3 separate regions of the Homo sapiens genome follow, and regions 1 and 2 are each linked to region 3. The links are contacts of gene promoters, found by promoter capture Hi-C in human tissues and cell types (Jung and others, 2019). All regions are on one chromosome and are shown on one strand. Each heading gives the region's core, a stretch centred on a gene start or on the middle of the fragment in contact. The rest is flanking DNA. Distances are from core to core; before and after follow the strand shown. Region 1 has its middle 5.2 kb from the start of CCDC43. Region 2 overlaps MEIOC (meiosis specific with coiled-coil domain). Region 3 holds the start of LSM12 (LSM12 homolog).

Region 1 (3,726 bases), core at 393-2,892, 630 kb after region 3:
GGCAGAGCTTGCAGTGAGCCGAGATCTGACCACTGCTCTCCAGCCTGGGCAACAGAGTGAGACTCCATCTCAAAAAAAAACAAAAAAAACAAAAAAATTAGCCAGCTATGGTGGTAGGCGCATGTAATCCCAGTTACTTGGGAGGCTGAGGCAGGAGAATTGCTTGAAACCAGGAGGCGGAGGTTACAGTGAGCTGAGATTACGCCATTGTACTCCAACCTGGGCAACAAGGGCAAAACTCTGTCTCAACAAAAAAAAAGAAAAAATTATATAAATGGATAAGCGACAAATTGAAAGCTTACAAAAAATAAAATACGCAAATTAAGATTGCAGTGAAATACCACGTCCGCTTTTCAGATCAAAAAAGTCTGATAATATGCTGTATTGAACTGTGCTTGGGTAAAAGACATTGGAAAATGTTAGAGCAGAAAGTAAATGGATCTGGTCTTGTTGGAGGACTGTTTGTTTGAAAAGACCCAGCATTTCTGCTTCTGGGAATTTGTTCATAAGTTATTCATTTATTTTTATCTTTACTTGTGGTAAAATACACAATTTGCCATCTTAACTATTTTTAAGTATACGATTTAATAGTGTTAAGTATTAATTATTTTTAAAATTTTTGGTTTAAACTGGGCGTGGTGCCTGTTTAAACTGGGCGTGGTTTAAACTGGGCGTGGTTGGCTGGGCGCGGTGGCTCACGCCTGTAATCCCCGCACTTAGGGAGGCCAAGGTGGGTGGATCACTGAGGTCAGGAGTTCAAGACCAGTCTAGCCAACATGGCAAAACCCTGTCTCTACTAAAAATATAAAAATTAGCCAGGTGTGGTAATGCATGCCTATAGTCCCAGCTACTTGGCCACTTGAGAAGCTGAGGCAGGAGATTCACTCGAATTCGGGACACGGAGGTTGCAGTGAGTTGAGATAATGCCACTGCATTCCAGCCTGGGCAACAGAGTGAGACTCTGTCTCAAAAAAAGAAAAAAATTTTGATTTAATATTTTGTATAATGGCCAGGCACACTGGCTTACACCTGTAATCCCAGTACTTTGGGAGGCTGACAAGGGAGGATTGCTTGAGGCCAGGAGTTCGAGACTAACCTGGTCAACATAATGAGACCCCAGCTCTACAAAAAAAAAAAGTGGTGGTGCATGTCTTTTGTCCTACCTACTCAGGAGGTTGAGGCAAGAGGATCACTTGAGCCCAGGAGCTCAAATTTACATGAGCTATGATGATGCCACTGCATTCTAGCCTGAACAACAGAACAAAACTCTGTCTTTAAAAAATAAAACTGTGCATTTGTGTAGAATCACATTTTTCTAAGGATATTCATTGTAGTGAAGCTTTTTGTAGTAAAAGAATAGTCTACATTTTATGTATATGAGACTGGTTCAAAAACTCTGGTAGCCACACAAAGAAGTATTGCACAGCTGTAAAAAAAAAAAAAAAAATGAACAAAGAGGCCGGGCGCGGTGGCTGGTGCCTGTAGTCCCAGCACTTTGGGAGGCCAAAGCAGGTGGATCACCTGAGGTCAAGAGTTCGAGACCAGCCTGGCCAACTAAAAATACAAAAATTAGCTGGGCATGGTGGTAAGCACCTGTAATCCCAGCTACTCGGGAGGCTGAGGCAGGAGAATCGCTTGAATCCAGGAGGCAGAGGTTGCAGTGAGAGGAGATCATGCCATTGCTCTCCAGCCTGGGCTACAGAGCAAGACTCCGTCTCGAAAAAAAAAAAAAAAAAAGAACAAAGAAGCTCTTTATGCACTGACATGTATCAAAGTTCGAGATACATTGTTTAAAAAGTACAGATCAACAATATGTAATGCTTGCCACCATCACTATTTAAAAAGAAGTTAGGGTAGGGGAATACATGTACATATGTGTCCTTGTATGTGCATAGGCTATCTCTGGAAAGATACACCAGGGATATGTGAGAATGGTTGTCCACTGAGGAGGAGAACTGAAGGAGACTGGTTTTGAACTGTTATATTTATTTACTTTGTATCTTTTTGTAAAAGAAAGCAAATTTGAAGCCCTTTCTCCAACCTCATTTTCTCCCCTCTCTCCCCAGATGTAACCACTATTCCTGAATTTGGTGTTTATTTTCTTCTTGAATGTTTTTAAACATAGTACACATTGCTACATATATAATACATATTACAACATATGGATGTATCCATAATATATCACATTGGTGTGCATGCTGTACTTTTCATTCTGCAATGTGCTTTTTCACTCAAGGTTGTTTAAAATATTTACCCATGTTGGGCCGGGCGCAGTCGCTCATGCCTGTAATCCCAGCACTTTGGGAGGCCTAGGCGGGTGGATCAGCTGAGGTCAAGAGTTTGAGACAAGCCTCACCAACATGGTGAAACCCCATCTCTACTAAAGCTACAAAAATTAACTGGGCGTGGTCACGCACGCCTGTAATCCCAGCTACTTAGGAGGCTGAGGCAGGAGAATAGCTTGAACCTGGGAGGCGGAGGTTGCAGTGAGCCAAGACTGCGCCACTGCACTCCAGCCTAGGTGACAGAGCAAGACCCTGTCTCAAAAAATATATACGTGTATATGGCCGGGCACGGTGGCTCATGCCTGTAATCCCAGCACTTTGGGAGGCCAAGGCGGGCGGATCACCTGAGGTCAGGGGTTCGGGACAAGCCTGACCAACATGGAGAAACCCCATCTCTACTAAAAATGCAAAATTAGCCAGGTTTGGTGGCACATGCCTGTAATCCCAGCTACTTGGGAGGCTGAGACAGGAGAATCGCTTGAACCCGGGAGGCGGAGGTTGCGGTTAGCCGAGATCGCGCCATTGCACTCCAGCCTGGGCAACAAAAGCGAAACCCCATCTCAAAAAAAAAAAGAAAAAAATATATATAATATATATGTATCTATATATATTTTATATATATCTTTACCCATGTTGATATATGTAGCTCTTATCCATCCATTTAAATCACTGCATAGTATTCCGTTGCTTTAATATGCTCCAGCTGATCCATTCCTCTGCCGATGGATGGTGAGGTTAGTTCCTAGTTTTCCAGTCAGTGCACCAGTTCACATTCTTAGGTGGTCCCCTTGCCCACCATGGGAAAGTTCCTCTAGATCAGTGAGCATCAGACATTTTTGCCACATACTCTTAGCAGTAAAAATATTCTCAGCATGTACACCTAATGCACTAATATGTAGTTATTTATGAATTATTTGTGTGAACTGCTATATCAAATTAGTATGTCCATCATAAAACATACAAAAAGAGAACTACAAAAAGGAGAAAATCGTTAAAAAATGAAGTAGGCCGGGCGTGATGGCTCACACCTGTAATCCCAACACTTTGAGAGGCCGAGGTGGGTGGATCACTTGAGGTCAGGGGTTCAAGACCAGCCTGGCCAACATGGTGAAACCGGGTCTGTACTAAAAATACAAAAATTAGCCGAGCAATGGTGGTGGGCATCTGTAATCCCAGCTACTCGGGAGTCTGAGGCAAAAGAATCGCTTGAACCCGGGGAGCGGAGGTTGCAGTGAGCCAAGATTGAACCACTGCACTCCAGGCCTAGGCGACAGAGCAAGACTCCGTCTGAAAAAAAAAAAAAAAGAAAGAAGTACATAATATAAATATTTATTATTTGTAGTATACCAAAAGTCCTTAGTAAAAATAATGTAGTTGAAGATGTTTCATTACCACCCCCACTTCTTTATTTATTTTTATTTTTAATTGTGGTAAAATATGT
Region 2 (3,824 bases), core at 139-2,638, 600 kb after region 3:
TTTTATAGTGATGAATCTGTGTCAGCAATGGAAAAGCAATACCTGCGTAACAGTAATCTCACACCACAACAAAAAATAGATGAACTTCATCATGGATTTACTGGTTTAGATCTTGAAGAACAATGGATGTACCCCTCACGAAGTGATCATTCTAACTGTCACAATATTCAGACAAATGATACAGCTAAGACAACATTCCAAGAATATCCACTTATCAAAAACTGTTTTACACCCCAAACTGGTCTGTCTGATATCATGAAAGAATCAGGAGTTGATATCTACCATTATGGAAGAGACAGAATATGTACTAAAGGTCTTGAAGCACCACTACAGCAAAAAAGGGCAGAGATGTTTCTTTCTCAATTTAATAGATACAATGAAAATGTAGATTATTGTAGATACCCAGAGTATGTTCATCCTAATAAGGCTAAGCTTAATAAATGTTCAAATTTTAGTGTCCAAGATAGCAAAAAATTAGCCAATGGCACACCTGAAACACCAACTGTAGAAGCAGACACCTACACAAAGTTATTTCAGGTTAAGCCAGCGAATCAGAAAAAAATGGAGGAGACAATCCCTGATCAGCAGAATTTCACATTTCCAAAAACTACGCCACATCTGACAGAGAAACAGTTTGCAAAGGAAGCAGTATTCACTGCTGATTTTGGCTTAACATCAGAATATGGACTAAAACCTCACACAGCTTGTCCCGCTAATGATTTTGCTAACGTCACAGAAAAGCAACAGTTTGCTAAACCTGATCCCCCACATTCTGAGTATTTTAAATCAGTGAATTTATTATCAAACTCAGCAACATCTTCAGGAGGTATCAATTTAAACAGACCAACTTGGATGAATGTTCAAACAAAAAATAACACTCCTATTCCTTATCGAAATCAAGGTAACTTGATGAAATTAAATAGTCATTTAAGTGCAGCTTCAAAAGGTTCTAACCATTCTTCAGATTTCCCCCAACTATCATCCACAAACTTAACCCCAAATAGCAATTTATTTCAGAAATATTGCCAAGAAAACCCTTCAGCATTTTCTAGTTTTGATTTTAGTTACAGTGGTGCAGAAAGAATCCAATCTGTCAATCACATAGAAGGACTAACAAAGCCTGGAGAAGAAAATCTCTTCAAATTGGTTACGGATAAAAAAATAAAGCAGCCAAATGGATTTTGTGATAACTATTCAGCTCAGAAGTATGGGATAATTGAAAATGTAAACAAACATAATTTTCAAGCCAAGCCCCAGAGTGGACATTATGATCCTGAGGAAGGTCCAAAGCATTTAGATGGCTTATCACAAAATACATACCAAGATCTACTGGAGTCACAGGGTCATTCTAATAGCCACAGAACGAGAGGTGGAGACAATAGCCGTGTGAATCGCACACAAGTGTCATGCTTTTCTAATAATTATATGATGGGAGATTTAAGGCATAATCAGTGTTTTCAACAACTTGGTTCAAATGGGTTTCCCCTAAGATCCACCCACCCATTTGGCCATTCAGTTGTTCCACTGTTGGATTCCTATGACTTACTTTCTTATGATGACTTAAGCCATTTGTACCCTTATTTTAATATGATGTATGGTGATAATTCTTTTTCTGGTCTCATGCCAACTTTTGGATTTCAAAGACCAATTAAAACCCGTAGTGGACCAGCCAGTGAACTTCATATTCGTCTAGAAGAGTGCTGTGAACAATGGAGAGCATTAGAAAAAGAGAGAAAAAAGGTAACACAAAGTTAACCACTTAGGAATAACAGTATGTTCCTTTTGCCTGTCTTCATTCTGTTTACCTTAGTGTAGTGTAAGAGTACTTGCCTTATTTCTTTTTGCTTTATTTGTTGTTGTTTTAAAGAGACAGAGTCTCGCTCTGTTGCCCAGGCTGGAGTACAGTGGCAGAATCATAGTTTACTGTAACCAAACTCCTGGGCTCAAGCAATCCTTCCTCCTCCTGAGTAGCTAGTACTACAGGCACATGCCACCATGCCTGGCTAATTTTAATTTTTTGTAGACATTAGGTTTCACTATGTTCCCCACGGTGGTCTCAAACCCCTGGCCTCAAGCCATCCTCCCACCTTGATGTCCCAAGTGTTGGCATTACAGATGTGAGCCACTGCACCCGGCTAACTTGCCTTATTTCTGAGCTGAATTCTATAATGTCCAGGATTTGCTGTAAGTTCATTACTGTAAGGAATTAAGTGGGTTACTTAAAAACTAAAAATGGATGGGGTTGGCCAATGGGAAGCTTAAATAAATGAAGATGAAAAATGCTTGACATTTTAAAGTTATTGTTATTCTAAGTTGACTTGCCCTGAAGTAGATTTTTTACCCCCTTAGTTGTTACAAGTTTATTTCTTTGAATTTTGTAGTGTTAACCTGTTGGTATACTCAGGTATTTTATTTGTATTAAGACGATAGCTGGGCGCGGTGGCTCACGCCTGTAATCCCAGCACTTTGGGAGGCCAAGGTGGGCAGATCACAAGGTCAGGAGTTGGAGACCAGCCTGGCCAACATGGTGAAACCCAGTCTCTACTAAAAATACAAAAAATTAGCCAGGCGTGGTGGCAGGCACCTGTAATCCCAGCTACGCGGGAGGCTGAGGCAGGAGAATCGCTTGAACCCGGGAAACGGAGGTTACAGTGAGCCGAGACTGCACCACTGCACTCCAGCCTGGGCAATAGAGTGAGACTCCATCTGAAAAAAAAAAGATAGAAAAATACTGTGGTATTGTGGTTTACATTTGTTGTCTTTTGATACCAAAACAGAATTTTCATTTAAAGTGGTAATACTCTATTTATTAGGCTTACGAAAACTATTATTCATGGTCGAATCATATTTAGAAAATTCTACATCTAAAAAGTATGTAATTTTTTACAGACTGAATTAGCCCTTGCCAAGAATTATCCTGGAAAAAAAGTATCCAGTACTAACAACACTCCAGTTCCAAGGCTGACTTCCAACCCATCTAGAGTTGATCGCTTAATTGTGGATGAACTTCGAGAACTAGCCAGAGTAAGCTGTAAAAATAGATAACAGTGGATGGATTTTTTGTTAAATTTTTTTTAAGTTTCAGGCCAGGCGTGGTGGCTCACTCCTGTAATCCCACCACTTTGGGAGGCCGAGGCGGGCAGATCACCTGAAGTCAGGAGTTCGAGACCAGCCTGGCCATTATGGTGAAACCCCGTCTCTACTAAAAATACAAAAATTAGCTGGGGGTGGTGGCATGCGCCTGTAGTCCCAGCTACTTGGGAGGCTGAGGCAGGAGAATCATTTAAACCCAGGAGGCAGAGGTTGCAGTGAGTGAAGATCACGCCACTGCACTCCAGCCTGAGTGACAGAGCGAGACTCTATCTCAATAAATAAATAAATAAAACTCTCATCAAGTTTTAGAGCTTTGAAGGGTTTTTAAATCACATTTACATCTAACTCTCTGAAATATATTTTTTTCATGTTTGGTCCTAGAACTATAATATTTAGGAAAGGGGCTGGGTGCAGTGGCTCACACCTGTAATACCAGCACTTTGGGAAGTGGAGGTGGGAGAATCACTTGAGCCCAGGAGTTTGAGACCATCCTGGGCAACATAGGGAGATCCTGTCTCTACTAAAAATTAAAAATTAGCTGGACATGGTGTCACATGCTTATGCTACTCAGGAGGCTGAGGTGGGAAGATAGCTTGAGCCTGGGATGTCAGGGCTACAGTGAGCCATAACCACACCATTGCATTCCAACCTGGGGAACAGAGCAAGATCTTGTCTCAAAAAAAAAAAAAAAAGAAAAAAAAAGAAAAAGGAACGGGAAAATAGTCCCACTC
Region 3 (3,794 bases), core at 820-3,319:
ACATGCCTGTAATCCCAGCTACTCTGGAGCCTGAGGCAGGAGAATCACTTGAACACGGGAGGCGGAGGTTGCAGTGAGCCGAGATGGTGCCACTGCACTCCAGCCTAGGTGACAGAGCGAGACTCCGTCTCAAAAAAAAAAAAAAAAAAGTAATTCCTAGTTACAAGACCCTTCCAACTAAACCACTAATGTAAAAGGTCTTATTTCTTCCAGGTGTAACCTCTTATTTTTTTAAAAAAGCAACTATTCTTAGGCCGCGCGGTGGCTCACGCTGGTAATCCCAGCACTCTGGGAGGCCGAGGCGGGTGGATCACGAGGTCAGGAGATCGAGACCATCTTGGCTAACACGGTGAAACCCCGTCTCTACTAAAAATACAAAAAATTAGCCGGGCACGGTGGCGTATGCCTGCAATCCCAGCTACTCGGGAGGCTGAGGCAGAAGAATCGCTTGAATCCGGGAGACGGAAGTTGCAGTAAGCCGAAATCACGCCATTGCACTCCAGCCTGGGCAATAAGAGTGAAACTCCGTCTCAAAAAACACAACAAAAAAAAAAGCCGGGCGGTGGCTCAGGCCTGTAATCCCAGCACTTTGGGAGGCTGAAGCCAGCGGATCACGAGGTCAGAAGTTCGAGACCATCCTGGCCAACATGGTGATACCCCATCTCTGTTAAAAAAAAACATATACAAAAATTAGCTGGGCGTGGTGGCGCGTGCCCGTAATCCCAGCTACTCCGGAGGCTGAGGCAGGAGAATCGCTCGAACCAGGGAGTCGGAGGTTGCAGTGAGCCGAGATTGCGCCACCGCACTCCATCCTAGCGACAGAGCGAGACTCCATCTTAAAAAAAAAAAAAAAAAAAAGATGCCATAAAAAATTACTCCTCCAAAAAAAAATTCCAATAAACCCACCTGTGGCTCACATAAAAAGGGAAGCCGTGGCACATTTATCCCAACAAGGAAGTGTTTCATTTCCAAGACTGAGTTTCCTGGAGTAATTCAGAAGTCACTTCCACCCCAAAGAAGCAGGCCACCTTTTCCAATCAGTTTAACATTGCTACTTTCAAAAGGGAGGCTGCTACTACGTAAAAGGACTCCATGTGCTGGACTGATCAAGGCAGCATGAGAACTTCACTCTTTCACCTGTAACTCACACATCCCCAAACCACATAAGCCCCTGGCAAGCCCTCTCTGGAACAGGTTTCCAGTGCAAACATCCCCTAAACAGCAACTTCCAAATGACCGAGAAGCCTAAAAATCAGCACAGCCCCCCCACCACACATACACACGCATCAGCGAAACAAGCCACTATCCCTAGCTCAGATACAAACTCTGCCCTGAACTTACTCTCCCCCAAAACAGGCAAGGACCAATTTGGTCACCATCCCACCGCCCTTCCTTGGACGAAATCCCATCAGTGCACATGCCCTCCTAAATTCCATACCTTTGCCCTACCAGCAGTTCCTTACCCTAAACACCCCTCCCCATAATATTTCACCCGCCCCTCCTTTCCATCCGGGCTCCAATCCATCAGCCCCCTCCCACCACCACCCCCTCTCCTAATTACTGTGTCCCCTCTCATAACGTTCCCCCCAAAAAGCCATCCCCGTGTCAAGCCCTCCTCCACCCACTGATCCTCGGTAAAGCCCCAGCTCCCGCAAAGAGAGAGAGACAGGATCCCCAAAGCTGACCGAAGGGCCCGCGGGAGGGGGAGGGGAGCTCAGGGCCGTGCGCATGCGCCCCGGGCGCCGCGGTAGCCGGTCGCCCCTAGGCCCGGAGAGAGCCCCAGCCGCCGCCGTCGTCCCCCACCCCCCGACCACCGCACCTACACGCCGGCCCGGACTCGGGCTTCACGCAGGGAAGGATACTTAAAGCCAGCATTTTGGATTGGTAGTCAAAGGCTACCACCTCGCCCTGCAGCCGCTGCTCCTGGCACGTCCGGCACGACACCTGGCTCCCAACGCTGAAGTACTCGCCCGGAGGAGCCGCCATCTTGGGAGTGCAGCCGCGGCCGGCGGCGGCGGCGGCAGCAGCGGGCGAAAGCCGGGCCCCCAGTGAGCGCCGCGACGCGACGGCGCGCACGGAGCGTGCTTGCGTCACACGCCGGGGCGTGGCCTGGCGCTGGTTGGGGCGGGATCCTAGGTGGAGTGGGAAAGAAGAGGAAATAAAGGGGAATCTGAAAAGTATTTGTATAGCTGCGTCCGCTCGGTTAAGTGCTTGTAGAGTCCATTTTAGAAGTTAAGGATAAATGACCTACGTGGAATGAAAAGGGGAAAGAGGAGGGAGCTGCAGTCTCCATTATATGCACACCTTCCACACAAGAGTTTAATGAATGAATTTTATAAAATATGTTAACCCCATTTTGCATATGAGGAATCAGAGCCTCAGAGGACTTAACGATACTTGGACAAGATGATTATAAGGCTGGGAGCGGTGGCTCACGCCTGTAATCCCAGCACTTTGGGAGGCCGAGGCGGGTGGATCACCTGAGGTCAGGGGTTCGAGACCAGCCTGGCCAACATGGTGAAACCCCGTCTCTACTAAAAATACAAAAATTAGCCGGGTACGGTGGCGCGTGCCTGTAATCCCAGCTACTAGGGGGACTGAGGCTGGAGGATCTCTTGAACCTGGAAGGCGGAGGTTGCACTGAGCCAAGATTGTGCCACTGCACTCTAGCCTGGGCAACAGAGCGAGACTCTGTCTCAAAACAAACAAACAAACAAAAAAAGATGATTATAACTACTGAGTGATAGTGGAAAGAACATTGGCTGTGGAGTTAGATAAGCTGGAACCAGAATCCGAGGTCAGCCTCTTACTAAATCACCTGACCTTGAGCAAGCAAATTACCTGATCCTGTTTCTTCATAGGCATTTGTATTGTCACTTCTTGAGCATCTAACAGCCCTTTGAGGTAGGAATCAATGTCCTCCTTTTACATAAACTAAGTTTTAGACTAAACTTGTCCACGGTTCCACAACTAGCAAAAACAGTCTGCCTATTTCCAAGGACGGTGCTATTTACTGCTATACTCTGTTACATAATAATACCTACCTCATAGTTAGGAGGTTTAAATGCGGTAACGGGTATAAGTGCATGGCATGTACTAGGTCTTTAATAAATGGTAGTTCCCCCTTAGTCACCCATCACTCTTAGAAGTCAAGACACTTCCCCTTCTCCCTTTTTGCCCTCTCTCCCAGAAAGCCAGGCAAAAGGCAGGAATGAGGAGCAGCGGATAGTGACAAAAAGGGGCTTGGAGGAGGGGTTTTGCGCCCCTGCCCTTGAATGTCCGTCTGATGTACAAAACAGTCGTTTTCTTAATCTTATGCAAAGGACTATGAGCGTGCATTTTCAAGCCCTACTACCACCAATGGCTGTCGCTAACCCACCCACCGCTCACTATAGAAATTTTGGATCCTCGCTTCATGTATAAGAAACAGGTTGACCTTTCTCTAGTCCAGAGGGAAGCAAAGGGCCAGTCTTGGCGCGGCTTAACCTGAACAAAGTTCAAAAGTATTTCCTTGCCCTCCAAGAAACATAAACTTCCTGGTGTTGGAAGTATTGATACACTCATTATAATAGGAATAAAAATTCTGCTCCTTCATAGTGTGCTTTTTCAGAGAACTTTTTTTTTTTTTTTTTTGAGATAGAGCCTCGCTCTGTCACCCAGACTGGAGTGCAGTGGCGCCATCTTGGCTCACTGCAACCCGCACCTCCCAGGTTCAAGCGATTCTCCTGCCTCAGCTTCCGGAGTAGCTGGAATTACAGGCACGAGCCACCATGCCCGGCTAATTTTTGTACTTT

Evidence for each region. The method cuts DNA at HindIII sites, captures the fragments that hold promoters and counts their contacts. A contact is called where the count stands out against the background at its distance.
Region 1: a fragment that was not itself captured here is called in contact with the fragment with the promoter of LSM12 in region 3 in 1 of the 25 tissues and cell types used here (dorsolateral prefrontal cortex).
Region 2: a fragment that was not itself captured here is called in contact with the fragment with the promoter of LSM12 in region 3 in 1 of the 25 tissues and cell types used here (dorsolateral prefrontal cortex).

The regions. Positions count from the first base shown.
Region 1 is chr17:44,693,091-44,696,816 of GRCh38, forward strand. No RefSeq gene overlaps it. Among named protein-coding and RNA genes, the nearest start is that of CCDC43, 5.2 kb to the left of the region's middle. The HindIII fragment of the contact is 6,435 bases long and covers 1-3,726 here.
Region 2 is chr17:44,666,494-44,670,317 of GRCh38, forward strand. It overlaps MEIOC (meiosis specific with coiled-coil domain), which reads left to right. Exons shown (of 8, transcript NM_001145080.3): 5 at 1-1,740; 6 at 2,890-3,024. Among named protein-coding and RNA genes, the nearest start is that of MEIOC, 12 kb to the left of the region's middle. The HindIII fragment of the contact is 5,508 bases long and covers 1-3,824 here.
Region 3 is chr17:44,064,602-44,068,395 of GRCh38, forward strand. It overlaps LSM12 (LSM12 homolog), which reads right to left and starts at 2,070. Exons shown (of 5, transcript NM_001371445.1): 1 at 1,863-2,070. The coding sequence starts at 1,986. RefSeq lists silencers at 1,603-1,742, 2,033-2,152. The HindIII fragment of the contact is 14,418 bases long and covers 1-3,794 here.